Linked DNA regions of Homo sapiens: regions 2, 3, 4 and 5 are each linked to region 1. Evidence: promoter capture Hi-C in 16 types of primary human blood cells and fetal thymus (Javierre and others, 2016). All regions are on one chromosome and are shown on one strand. Each heading gives the region's core, a stretch centred on a gene start or on the middle of the fragment in contact. The rest is flanking DNA. Distances are from core to core; before and after follow the strand shown. Region 1 holds the start of MED12L (mediator complex subunit 12L). Region 2 holds the start of ERICH6-AS1 (ERICH6 antisense RNA 1). Region 3 has its middle 21 kb from the start of ERICH6. Region 4 overlaps SIAH2 (siah E3 ubiquitin protein ligase 2). Region 5 has its middle 27 kb from the start of SIAH2.

The links. Contacts are between HindIII fragments. The CHiCAGO score rates a contact against its expected background, and 5 or more counts as called.
Region 2: a contact is called between the fragment with the promoter of ERICH6-AS1 here and the fragment with the promoter of MED12L in region 1, in 1 of 17 cell types (fetal thymus). The highest score is 5.9, in fetal thymus.
Region 3: a fragment that was not itself captured here is called in contact with the fragment with the promoter of MED12L in region 1 in 1 of 17 cell types (megakaryocytes); the score reaches 6.1 in megakaryocytes.
Region 4: a fragment that was not itself captured here is called in contact with the fragment with the promoter of MED12L in region 1 in 1 of 17 cell types (megakaryocytes); the score reaches 6.0 in megakaryocytes.
Region 5: a contact is called between a fragment that was not itself captured here and the fragment with the promoter of MED12L in region 1, in 2 of 17 cell types (megakaryocytes and M1 macrophages). The highest score is 9.5, in megakaryocytes.

Annotation. Positions count from the first base shown.
Region 1 is chr3:151,084,394-151,086,926 of GRCh38, forward strand. It overlaps MED12L (mediator complex subunit 12L), which reads left to right and starts at 1,271. Exons shown (of 45, transcript NM_001393769.1): 1 at 1,271-1,543; 2 at 2,405-2,533. RefSeq lists silencers at 923-1,292, 1,729-2,023. The HindIII fragment of the contact is 3,991 bases long and covers 1-2,533 here.
Region 2 is chr3:150,702,301-150,704,833 of GRCh38, forward strand. It overlaps ERICH6-AS1 (ERICH6 antisense RNA 1), which reads left to right and starts at 1,264. Exons shown (of 3, transcript NR_121675.1): 1 at 1,264-1,367. ERICH6 (glutamate rich 6) reads right to left here and starts at 1,620. Exons shown (of 14, transcript NM_152394.5): 1 at 1,196-1,620. The coding sequence starts at 1,598. RefSeq lists enhancers at 1,496-1,575, 1,726-1,815. The HindIII fragment of the contact is 4,487 bases long and covers 1-2,533 here.
Region 3 is chr3:150,723,169-150,725,701 of GRCh38, forward strand. No RefSeq gene overlaps it. Among named protein-coding and RNA genes, the nearest start is that of ERICH6, 21 kb to the left of the region's middle. RefSeq lists enhancers at 1,986-2,487, 2,488-2,533. The HindIII fragment of the contact is 876 bases long and covers 833-1,708 here.
Region 4 is chr3:150,757,230-150,759,762 of GRCh38, forward strand. The region is part of intron 1 of SIAH2 (siah E3 ubiquitin protein ligase 2); the gene reads right to left. Among named protein-coding and RNA genes, the nearest start is that of SIAH2-AS1, 3.4 kb to the right of the region's middle. RefSeq lists an enhancer at 2,201-2,260. The HindIII fragment of the contact is 3,606 bases long and covers 1-2,533 here.
Region 5 is chr3:150,788,796-150,791,328 of GRCh38, forward strand. No RefSeq gene overlaps it. Among named protein-coding and RNA genes, the nearest start is that of SIAH2, 27 kb to the left of the region's middle. The HindIII fragment of the contact is 3,952 bases long and covers 1-2,533 here.

The DNA of each region.
Region 1 (2,533 bases), core at 21-2,520:
GCGACAGAGCGAGGCTCTGTCTCAAAAAACAACCAACCAACCAAACAAAGAAAACAACAACAACAAAAAACTGTCCTTTCTTTCAAACAAGGGAGCTACATTTGATAGATGCCTGTATCACAAGGGCAAGTCCAGCCATGAAATTAATCCCAGGATATTAGTGGAAGAGAAGACCCTGGGGCAAGATGGGGAAGGTGGTCAGGAAATGCCCTCCAGTGAAGTTAGGTAAATGCTCTCTAGAAGTAATTGTTCAGATTAAGGAAGCCAAAAGCTAAACACCTGACTCAGCCTCAAACTGGGTTTGGAGGTGCTCACAGGTCAGGATCAGGAGTGAGGAACTAGCCTCTACCACATTACCTTCACTTTATTTATCTCCTTCTTCCCCCTTTGCTTAAATGTCAACGAACATCAAAGTTGATGTTCAGATTCAACCAGCATTTCCAGAGCACCTACTATGTATCAAAGGCTTCCGGTTAGAATCTGCCTTTACCACCTTACAGAGAGGGAAGGCCGAGAATGCCTCAAGCCGTGGAGAACGTGAGTCCATCAGGCAAGGACAGGTTAGGAACCCAGTCCCTCCAAGTCCAAGTCAGGGAAAACAGGTCAGAAACTTAGAATCAGTCGTGGGTTCAAATTCCGACTCGTTTCGTGGCTTTCGGCAAGTGAGTGGTCCTCTCTGAGCTGGCTCAATTTCTCCATCCATAAAAAGGGTACAGTAAGACCGTGGAAGGTTGTAAGGACCAGAGATTCTGACTATCAAGATCCTGGCACGTAGCGAAGGCTCCATAAATGGCAGCCATCATTCTTGGCCAAGTGCGGGCGCATTCTCCCGGGCACGCCTCCCGCGGGGTCCCTCAGGACAGGCCGAGCCCGCCTCCGCGGCTCCGGTCTCGCAGAGCTCGCGCCAGGTGGCCCAGCATCTTGGTGCCCGCGCCCCGAAGCGAGGAGCGAGGGCGGGTTGGATGACCAAGGTCTGCCCTGGAGGATCACCCCCCCCGCCCCTTCCACGCTCCCGGCGCAGGTGAGGTTTTCGGCCCAGGCCACGGGGACCGCGACCTCTGGGGAGGTCGAGGCGGAGGGTGCAGCGGGGGGCTTGGAGCAGGGCTCCAGAGGGCGCTCCCTCCCTCGCCCAGGTTCACCCCAGGGCCAGCCTCGGCGCCGGGGCCCGCGGGCTGCGCGCTCTGCGGCTGCGAAAACCCGGAGAGGCGGATTGGAGCGCGCTCACCGCGCTCTCAGCCAACTCCTCCGCGGTCCGGCCGCCGAGCTGGGCATGCTCAGTGCGGACGCCGCGCCGCCGTCCGCCAACTCGGAAGCTCGCGCTCCCGGGCCGTGGGGGCGAGAACGCCGGCGGCGAGCCGGCGTCGCTCGCCGCCCCCAGACAGTGGCAAACTTCGCGGCGTTCCCGGAGCTCGTCCGGGCGAGGCAGATACCGCACAAATAAAATCAAATCCAAGTCCCCCATCCCAACCCGAATGATGGAGGCTGCGGCGGCCGGAGTGACCCCGCCGCCGCCAGCCCCAGCCCGCTAGCCGCGGACCAACAGGTAAAGTGTTGGGGGTTGGGGGCGGAAGGGAAGAGGAGCTGGGGCCGTGGGGAGGCGGCGGGCTGGAGGAGCCCGAGACGCCTGCGGGCTGGCTGCCCCCGTCGGCGCTCACAGCCATCGCTCCTCACCCCCTTCCCCAGCCCCTGGAGGGACTGTAAAGGGTTAAGTCGGCCCCACGCCACCGTGAGCACGGCCCCCTCCAGCCGCCGCGACCGCCAGCAGCGCGCCTCGGCGCCTGCCCGGAGCCGCCGAGGGGACCGTAGCTGCGGATGCGCCACTGGAACCTGGCGGGCGTCTAGGAGGCACCGGCCGCTTCCCACCGGCCGCATCCCTGCGTCTCGCGCCCCCTCCAGACCTGCCTCTGCCTGCACTGGCCCGGTCCGTGTCCAGGTGGCGGGGTCTGCGGGGCGCGTGGCGGCGGGGGAAGGGTCCCTGCCGGGGAAGAGAGGCGGGGGCGGTCCGCTCCACAGCTTCTTCCCGGGAGGGGAGGGCCACCCTCGCCTTGGGCGAGCACTTCAGCCACCAGCCTAGGCGCCAAGAAAAGTTTTTTTTTTTTTTTTTCCAGTGCCCCACCCCCACCCCCATCCTGCGCCCAGCTGGGGTGGGTTTGGGTCCATTGGTGAAAAAAGTCACACGTTCCCATCAGCTGCTCCTCCCCCTGGAGACAAGGTAGGGGGGAGCAGAGGAGGCAGGCGCCGCGGAGGACCCTGGCCGACCTCTAGTCCCTCCGCCGCCGCCACCGGAGCGGTGCGTCCCGGGGCTCGAGCGCAGCCGAGTACCCGCCGAAGGCTGTCCCCATCAGTGCGTGTCTGCTGCCGGGCAGCGGCAGCATCCAACCTGCTTTATTCCTCCTGCCTGCAGCGCCACAGCGAGCGAGCGAGCGAGGAGGGGGAGAGAGGGAGTCTGTCTGCAAAGTGCTGCTCCCTGGTGCTCAGAGGCGGCTGCTCCAGCTCCAACTCTCATTCATTTCGCCGGTTAACATGAGAGATC
Region 2 (2,533 bases), core at 14-2,513, 380 kb before region 1:
GAGTCTCGCTCTGTCGCCTAGGCTGGAGTGCAATGGCGCGATCTTGGCTCACTGCAAGCTCCACCTCCCGGGTTCACGCTATTCTCCTGCCTCAGCCTCCCAAGTAGCTGGGACTACAGGCGCACGCCGCCACGCCCGGCTAATTTTTTGTATTTTTAGTAGAGACGGGGTTTCACCATGTTAGCCAGAATGGTCTCGATCTCCCGACCTCGTGATCTGCCCGCCTAGGCCTCCCAAAGTGCTGGGATCACAGGCGTGAGCCACCGCGCCCGGCCTGGAGACATTTTTGATCATCGCAAGGATGTGTGCTTCTAGCACAGCCACGGGTAGAGGACAGGGATGCTGCCAAATATCCTGTAATTCACAGGACAGTCCCCAATCCTCCCCAACAAAGAATTATCCAGACCAAAATGTCAACACTAGAGCTTGAGAAGCCTACTCTAGAAGACTTCTCTGCTTCTTTTTTCAAGGAAGTGACTGGAGTGGCTTCAGCACAGGATGTTAAACACAAAAGAGAGTTGTTTTTTTTTTTTGCAGGACTGTTTCAGTAGTACAGCACCCTTAAGGCACTTCTCTGGAAATAATATGAGTGTGTGTGTGTGTGTGTGTGTGTGTCTGTGAGAGAGAGAGAGAGGGAGAGAGAAAGAGAGGGGGAGGGGAGAGGGAGGGGAGGAAGAGGGAGGGGAGGGGGAACAGAGAGAGAGAGAGAGAGAGATGTCACGGTGTGAATGCACGCAAAAATGTTATAAAAATGAGCACTCCCAGCAGCCTGGGCAACATAGTGAGACGCCAGATTAGCTGGGTGTGGTGGCGTGTGCCTGTAGTTCCAGTTACTCGAGAGGCTGCGGTGGGAGGCTTGAGCCCAGGAGGTCGAGGCTGCAGCCACTGCACTCCAGCCTGGGCGACAGAGCGAGACTCTTGTCTAAAAAAAAAAAAGCACTTCATACAGCCATGCCCAAGTTCAACTTTTATGGTGTTTCGCCTATATCCTAAATCGTGCCTCATCACAACAGCTCAGCCAAGGGTTCAGTGTCTCTGACAAGGGCGTGAGAGAGATTAGGTGTGTGGAATGGTGCATGCATTTAGAAATCAGGCACGACGCGCAGGTCGACGAAGGCACCACCCAGGAGTGGGTGGACCAGGTGCCCCCTGGAGACGAGAAACCCTCGAGGAAGGGGTGGGTCGGGGGCGGTACTTTTATGCGAGGAGGTGCTGGAGGGTGGGCTTGCGCTCGGCGTTTCAGTGCTGGTCGCGCTCTGGCTGGGCACGAACGTAGAGGTCAGGCTAGGGCTGACGATGCTGGCTAAGCGGGGGCGCACGTCTGGGAAGTCGTCGTCGTAGTCACCGATGTCCGTGACCTTCCAGAGGTACTCTTCGCTGAACGTCTCAGGGGCCTCCAACTCCTGCTCTTCCCCCACCAACTCCTCCTCCACCACCTCCTCCTCCTCCTCCTCCACCTCTTCCTCCTCCTCCTCCACCTCTTCCTCCTCCTCCTCCACCTCTTCCTCCTCCTCCTCCTCCTCTAACTCCTCCTCTGACTCCTTCTGGTCCTTCTTCCCCGGGTCTCCGAAGCCGCTAGGCGAGCGCAAGTGGGCCATGGCTGGCGGGAGGCGGGATTACAGCCAGCTCTTTGGCCGCGGCCCCGGTCGGCTCTCGCGAGCGCGAGCCTCTGTTGTGCGTTGGTCTCCCCGGGCAACTGCTTGCCCTGCGCCACCGAGCCTCCCGGATTTAAAGCGGCAGGAGCTGGTTAGCCGGATAGAATGTGGGTGCCGAGGGCCGGTGGGGGCCACCGCAGACTTCTTTCTGTCCCTGCTCTTCAGCGTCTCTGAAACCCCTGGCAGCCTGCGGAGAAACGATCTTTTCTTCGTCTCTCAGCTTATTTGGGGCCTTTTTTTTTTTTTTTAACTTGGGTGGAGGAAGTGGCTTCTAGCGACGGACACACACGGTGCCATTTGGTATTGCGGATGCTGGAGTCTGGTTATTGAGTAGACAGATGCTTGCTGGAACGTCCAGTGAAACTTTATTTACAAAATCAGGCGCCAGCCCTTGGGCCCTCGTTTGCGGATATTTTTAAAATAGCTTTAAATATTAATAAGCGTATTAAAATTGCCTTAAATGTTAGTTATCTTAAATATTGTTAGATTAATATTAATTAATCTTGATTGGCGACATTTTTAGCGTCCCATAAATTTTGCTCCTTGCTGTGATCTGGGTCCTGCTTCTTACTTGGCCCATCTATCCATCCTGGAGTAGAAAAGTCCTGAAGCATCTGGCCACCTAGGTACCACCTGCGTCCTTCTGGGACTTTGTATTTACTTACATTTTTGTAAAATATATACATTTTTTATTTTTGAGAGACAGGATGTCACTCTGTCACCCAGGCTGGAGTGCAGTGGCGGCATCATGGTTCACTTCAGCCCTGAACTCTTGGGCTCCAGTGATCCTCCCACCTCGGTCTCCCAAGTGGCAAGGACAACAAATGTGTGTCACCACGCCTGGCCAATTTTATATATTATATTATATTATATTATAT
Region 3 (2,533 bases), core at 21-2,520, 360 kb before region 1:
CTGAATAGTGGCAAATCAGAGAATAATTCCTCTAAGTCTTTTTGGAAATTAGAATGGAACTTCCCTATCATCTGAAGACTCCTTATGGATTGAACAAGGAGGGCCCTCTTGACTGGTTTGTCTTTCTTTCTTTTTCTTTCTTTCTCTTTCTTTCTTTCTTTCTTTCTTTCTTTCTTTCTTTCTTTCTTTCTTTCTTTCTTTCTTTCTTTCTTTCCTTCTCTCCTTCCTTCTTTCCTTCCTTCCTTTCTTCCTTCCTTCCTTCCTATCTTCTTTCTCTTTCTCTCTCTCTCTCCCCCTGCTTCCTTTTCTTTTCTTTTCTCTTCTCTTTTTTCTTTCTCTTTTCTTTTCTTTCCAGGGTCTATGCTATGCTGCCTAGGCTGGTCTCAAATTTCTGGACTCAAGCAATCCTCCTGCCTTGGTTTCCCAAAGTGCTAGGATTACAGGCATGAGCCACCTTGACTGGTTTCTTCCTTAAAGGTTCCTAAGCTTCGCCTTTTTTTTTTTTATCTTAAAGATGGACACAGAGATCTAAACATTAAAACAATTTATTTATTGGAGTTTCCTCATAGAAGGGTAAGAGAGACAGTTGCACCTGACTGGGTGCTTAGTATTTCTATAGAGTGGCTTAAGCATGGCAACTGATTAATGAGAGGAGCAGGAGGTGACTTGCATTGTTTTTACTAAGATAATATTTTGTTTTGTTTTGTTTTGTTTTTTTTGGAGAATGGCAGATTGGGTTTATTGAGGGAGGCGACTGAAAGGAACTCAAATCACCCCCTTGGTACTGCTATTTATATTACTGCATTGTGTGGAAATCCTTAGTGGCAAATAAAGCTTTGGGCTGATGTTTAAGGCCCTCTACAATATAATCTTAACGCGACTTTTCTAGCTTTAACTTCGCCTACTCTTACACAGACCTGAATGGATGCTGCACATCCTGTTGGCCCAGCTGCAACTTCAGCCACTGCTGTAGCAACCAGTTTTGTGCAGGTGTGGCTGATGGCTCTGGCTTTGGCTGCCTGACGTTTCCTGGATCCTGCAGCGTGGCACAGGACACATTTGCCTCCTGGTTGCCTTCTGGACTTGCAGGGTACTTACCGTGATAGGGGGTACCCTTTGATGAGCTGGGGATGGGAACTGGAGGGTGAAGACCTCCCTCTTCTCTCTCTCAGTGGACAATTCTGAGGTCCTTCTACACAGTGCCTCAGAAGCCCCTAGCGGGATTGAGCCTCAGTTACCTAAGGCAGTGACCGGCGGATAATGCACCTGTGCTGGCTTTCTTTCCTCCCCTACTCCCCTCTTCAGTCCTTCAGTCTGTTGCCTGGAATCACTTTCCTAAATAAATGTCTTTTTTTTTTTTTTTTTTTTTTTTTTTTAGAGGGAGCCTCGCTCTGTTGCCCAGGCTGGAGTGCAGTGGTGTGATCTCGGCTCCCTGCAACCTCTGCCTCCTGGGTTCAAGCGATTCTCCTGCCTCAGCCTCCTGAGTAGCTGGGATTACAGGCACATGTCACCTCGCCTGGCTAATTTTTGTATTTTTAGTAGAGATGGGGGTTTCACCATGTAGTATACACCATAAGAATGTGTATAACTTTGCCAGGCTGGTCTCGAGCTCCTGACCTCAGGTGATCTGCCCACCTTGGCCTCTGAAAGTGCTGGGATTACAGGTGAGAGCCACCATGCCCAGCATTTCCTAAATAAACTTCATATAAGCTTTGTCTCAGGCTCTGCTTGCTTTGGGGAAACAACAGTCACCACCCTATTTGCTGTTTTTTGATGATGTTCCTTGCTCTTCATCTATTCAGTTCTTTAATACTTGCCTGGGGAACATCTAGTGTGCTCCTGGTCTGGGAAAGGGCCCTAAAATATAAAACGGAATCAGTCACAGGCCTTGCTCTTGAGGAGTTCTTGGTTTAAGAGAGAGAGAGAACAGACAGCTTAAAAAAAAAAAAAGTCAGTGTATCACAAGGTGAATGCTGTTCCAGAGAACCAGGAAGGAAGAACACAGGAGACAGGACAGCTGATCTGGCTTGGGGTATCTGAGGAGGTTTTCTCAGGAGCGTCTTTTAAAGGATGAACAGGAAGTAGTTTACAGGAACAAGGTGGGAAAAGACCTTCTGGGCTGAGAGACTAGTCTGGGCAGAGACACAGAGTCGTGAAAGAACTCGGTATGTTTGTGAACTGTGGGAAGTTCAGGGAGACTGGAGCGGAGGGTGCCTTAGGAATGTGCTATAGAGGAGTCTGTCAAGACCTGGGTGCCTGCTACACTCCGAGAGGTCAGCGAACGGGCCCTCACTGGCTTCTTTTGCGTTGATGGCCTGGTCTGTATTTCTGCACTAGGTGGCCCTCTCATTGTCGCCATGACTGCTGGCCAGTGGACACCTGCAGGAATGGACTTGGGGTAGGCCTGAGGCCCCAGTCTGCTGGGGTGCTCCTGGGAAACTGAGTCTCGCCTCGCCTAGTCTCATGGTAATGTGCAAGGGTTGTTTTGCATCAGCTTCTTGCCACTGGGGCGAGCCAGCAAGCAGCCAGAGCT
Region 4 (2,533 bases), core at 22-2,521, 330 kb before region 1:
ACGTTCTTTTCACTGGGACCGCTTACTATATTTTAAAATTTTAGGGTAAGAAAGAACCTTGGGATAATCATTTAGTCCAATCCCTTCTCTTAAAGACCCTCAGGTGCAAAAAAGAAACTGACCTGTATAGAGTCAAACATCTAGTCACAAGGCCATCATCTGAGGGTTCCTGATGGCCAGAAAATAATATTCTCTTGGCAAAATGAAGATGAAAAGAAAACAAGCTACAAAATCACCAACAGTTAGGGCCTAACAGAGTTCCAAAGTTCATGTATGGCAAGAGTTAAATGAGAACTTCCAGGCTCAAGGAATGCTTCTACAAGAGAATCAGATCAGAGGCTGCATGCTGGCAGCTGGAATTTGGCCTGGAGACGTGGTGGTTCGCTTTGTCTGCAAGTGGTGGTTATACATGTGAAGTCAGCCAATGCTAGAAAAAAAATCGAGATATTTAACATAAAAAAAAAATCCAGGCTGGGCACGGTGGCTCACACTTGTAATCCCAGCACTTTGGGGGGCCGAGATAGGAGGATTGCTTGAGCTCAGGAGTATCAAGACCAGCCTGGGCAACATAGTGAGATGACATCTCTTAAAGGAAAAAAAAAAGATCCAGATTTCTGGCTTTTCTTGAAAAAAATCTAAAGGTCTGATATGCCTGTACCCACATCCCCAACCCCACCAATCAGCCAGAGGTGAGTAAAGGCTGCCTCTTGGGAGGTGGCACCTGTTCTCTGGCTCTCCACCATCTCCACTGCTCCTCCAGGTCTCCCTGACCCTGAGGCCATGAGTGCATCAAATACTTCTCTCCTCTCCTCTCCTCTCATTACATGGCCCTCCTCCCATTTAGAAAGTTTGTCTCCACTGAACTAGATGAGGCCAAGGGATTTTAAACTTTCAACTGTTTTGTCTAACCTTACTTGGTTTTATGTTATTTTTTATTTTTTTAAGGAACACAGACATTGTCACAATTCAACCACAGAGAAGACTTGTCCAGCTGAGGCTTTCAAATTCAATAATTATTTGGAGATATGCTACTAGAAACTTTCAGAGAGGACAAAGAAAAGGTATCATTACAGTGTAAGAAGGCTGGAGTGGATTAGCATTGCTCACAGTTGTAGAGAGAAATACTTGGCTGATATCAAAATACATCGTTGGATGGTAAAGTAGACTATGTTGTTGATATGAATGTGTCAACCTTCACTTCTCCCCCTAAACCCACACACTGAAGGGGTGAGTTTAAGTCTGGGCACAGGATGTCAAAAGTTCTCAGGCATGGAACAAGCCACAGAATGGATTAAAAAATACCCCAAGCGGAAGAAAGCCATACACTATTAGACATTCCATTTTTTTTTTTTTTTTTTTGACACAGAGTCTTGCTCTGTCACCCAGGCTGGAGTGCAGTGGCACAATCTCAGCTCACTGCAACCTCCACCTCCTGGGTTCAAGCGATTCTCCTGCCGCAGCCTCCTGAGTAGCTGGGATTACAGGTGCCTGCCACCACACCTGGCTATTTTTTTTTTTTTTTTTTTTAATGAGACTGAGTTTCACTCTTGTTGCCCAGGCTGGAATGCAATGACGTGATCTTGGCTCACTGCAACCTCTGCCTCCCGGGTTCAAGCAATTCTCCTGCCTCAGTCTCCTGAGTAGCTGATATTACAGGCATGTGCCACCATGCCCAGCTAACTTTTTTGTATTTTTAGTAGAAACGGGGTTTCTCCATGTTGGTCAGGCTGGTCTCAAACTCCTGACCTCAGGTGATCCACCCACCTCAGCCTCCCAAAGTGCTGGGATTACAGACGTGAGCCACTGCGCCTGGCCCTAATTTTTGTATTTTTAGTAGAGACAGGGTTTCACTATGTTGTCCAGGCTGGTCTCGAACTCCTGACCTCAGGTGATCTGCTCACCTCTGCCTCCCAAAGTGCTGGGATTACAGGCATGAGTCACCACACCCAAAGATCTGAGCTAATAATGCATCCGGTTCCCCATATCAAAGGTGCTGGCAACACTCTAGCCTTTAATTAATTACCCTAAACCTAAGTGGGATAGTTATTTGGCAATACATCCATTTTTTTGCCAACTGAAGCAGTCCAGAGCTGTGATGATACCCCACAAAATACTAGGTTTGTAGGTTTCCCCCACCCTCCCATCTTCCTACCCTACATGCCCTACAAAATTCCTGCCAATGAATTTCATAGTGAGTATGTATGTTGTCATTTTGGGATGGTCCCATAAGAGGCCCATCTGGTGAACTCATCCAACCAGACGGTTTTGTTACTGGTGTCAACCTTGAGTTATGATTCAGAATCTTGAGTATACACTCAGATTCGAAATCCCTACGTAGTAAGGTGTAGGACAAAACATCTGTGCCTTTGAGATGCAGGTGCTTGGACTGGTCCTCTTACTAGCTGTGTGATTTGACAAGTCACTTCACATTTAACCACTCTGTAGGCATGAGTTTCCTCATCTGAAAAAAAAAAAAGGCAAACTAGTAAAAGCTGACCCCTGCAAAGTAACTGGCAGATAGAGGGCATCCAAT
Region 5 (2,533 bases), core at 24-2,523, 300 kb before region 1:
TTCCTTAAAATGGGGTTGAGGTGTTATACAACAGCCAAGCTACAGACTGCTTTCAGGTACTGATTGGTTTCTGGCTAAACTGGTATTCCAGATAACAGTTACGGTGATTTTGCTAGAGATTTAGTCCAAAATATGCCTCCATTTTTCTCATAAGAATAGTGTCTGTACAGAGTAAAAACCTAAATTAGCAACTAAAGTTTACTAAGAAATGAGATGAACAACCTTACTAGCATTCAAAATTGCAAATTAAACAACACAAGATACCATTTTTTCCTTATCAAGTGGCAAAAACTAAAAAGATTAATGACATACAGTGCTAATAGAGGGAAAACAGGCCTTCTCATATACTGAAGGTAGGACTGAAAATTATTACTGCTCTTGGGGAGATAGTATAGTAATATTTATTAAAATTTTTAAAAATATTTTTTGCCCCAAATCTCATTTTGAGGAGTATATTTTTCAGATATGAAAGCTGTAGAACATAGAAATACGTAATTGAGATGATTTTTGCACATTTTTTAGTAGCAAAACAAAACAAAATTGAGATACAACTGAACTGTACTTCAATAGGATATATTTTGGTATAAATGTAATTTGGTATATTCATAATTCCAATTTAAATTAGTGTGTAGGAATGAATTAGATCTATATGAATTGTTCTAGAGGATCACCATAGTAAGTTGAATGAAAAAAAAAAAGAAATTGTGGAGTCTTAAACATAGTATGATTCAGTTTTTGTAAGAACAAAAAATTCAAACTCTTTAGGAATATCTGCTTGCATGCGAGCATGGAGAAAGGTATCGAGGGGATACTCACTAGACGTTCCACCCTTGGAGGGTGGAATAAGAGGAAGTAGGGGTGTGTGTGTGTGTGTGTGTGTGTGTGTGCATATGTGTGTGTTATGTGGTGGAAGTATTATGAATTTTTTCTTTAATGCATCTTAAAAAATGCATGTCAATATTTTTAAAATTTTTTAAAAAAGGACAAGGAAACATGGTCCCCAGAAGGTTAAGGCATTTGACCAAAGTCTTAACAACTAGTTAATGTCCCAGCGGGGCTACAATCCAGGTCTGCTGAGCACTGATTCCTTATGTTCATTCTCGGCACTGCTCACTATTGAAAAAAAAGGTAGCTGGCAAAATTCATTACTGCTTCTTCTATTTGATGTTTTCACACTTCCCTTTCCTTTTCTATTGAGTAGCCAAGCTAGGAGAGCAAGAGTTTTTAGTTGTAGCCAGATCCTCTGTGTTCATCCTTAGGCAGACAATTTCCTTTTGACTGGATAAGTTAATTTCCATGACTGAGTTAGCTATTCAATGGCAATCCCCAGAGTTAAAAGGATCGAGGAGGTGACTGAAGAGTTATAAATTTTCTCATTGTCCAGTCAAGATGTTCTCCTTGATCTGATGAATTTTCAGAAGCCAGCATTTTATTTCATTTCCAGTTTGACATAAAAGTTATTGTGTCCTTGGGGTTATAAGAAATACAATATCACCTGTGACCTTCCTTTTATACAGAAAACTCTCCAGAGACCTCAGGGAATTTACGCAGTTTAATTTGGGCTTTGTTCAGCCCTCTTTTAGCTAACATTAGCCTGTAGGACCTTTTCAACAGTTATTATTTAATCCAGGGAGAGACTGTTACCCATCAAATGGAACACATTGCTGAATCCACTTAGTTTTTTTCTTTTTATTCTTGTGGAAATGCTTTTTTCCTGACTTTCTTGACCTCTATCTAGAGTTTGGAAATATATAACTACAAAGTGTGGATCTGAGCCTGAAGGAACTATGAGGTGGTATGGTAGGCAGAATAACACCCGCCCAAAGCTGTCTAAGTCCTAAGTCTCTGAAATTTGTGAATACATTATCTTACTGGCAAAGGAACTTTGCAGATGTGATTTGGTTAAGGGCTTTGAGATAGGGACAGTATTCATTATTGGTGTGAGTTCAATCTAATCACATGGATCTTTAAAAGAAGAAATCCTTTCCCAGTTGTAGTCAGAAGGAGATGTGATTATGAAAGAATGTTCAGAGTTGCAACATTGCCAGCTCTGAAGATGGAGAAAGAGGCCACAAGCTAAGGAATGCAGAGGGCCTTTAGAAGCTGAGAAAGGAAATAAAACAAATCTTTTCCTAGAGCCTCTAGATGGAACACATCTTGATCATAGCACATGTTGCACTTGGAGAGACAGGGGGAGCCAGATGTGCTTCAGTGAGGGGTCTAGCTCTATTTCCCACTCCTCTTTCAGCTTTCCTCTCCTCCACATGGAGCGTCCTCAAGCTGACTTACCCCTATGGTTGCAAGATGATGGGCAGCAGTGACTGGGGCAATAAGTGTTCTTGTTTACATCCACAGGAAGGAAAAGAAAACCTCTCCTCCACCCATGAAATAAGGCATTCCCTGAAGTCTGATTAGGCCAAATTGGATCATACGCCCATCCCTAGACCAGCCCTGGGAATACCAGCTACTGATGGTTTAAGCCTATGTTCCTAAATCAGTTACTATCAGATGGTAGTGATGGGCTGTTCACATG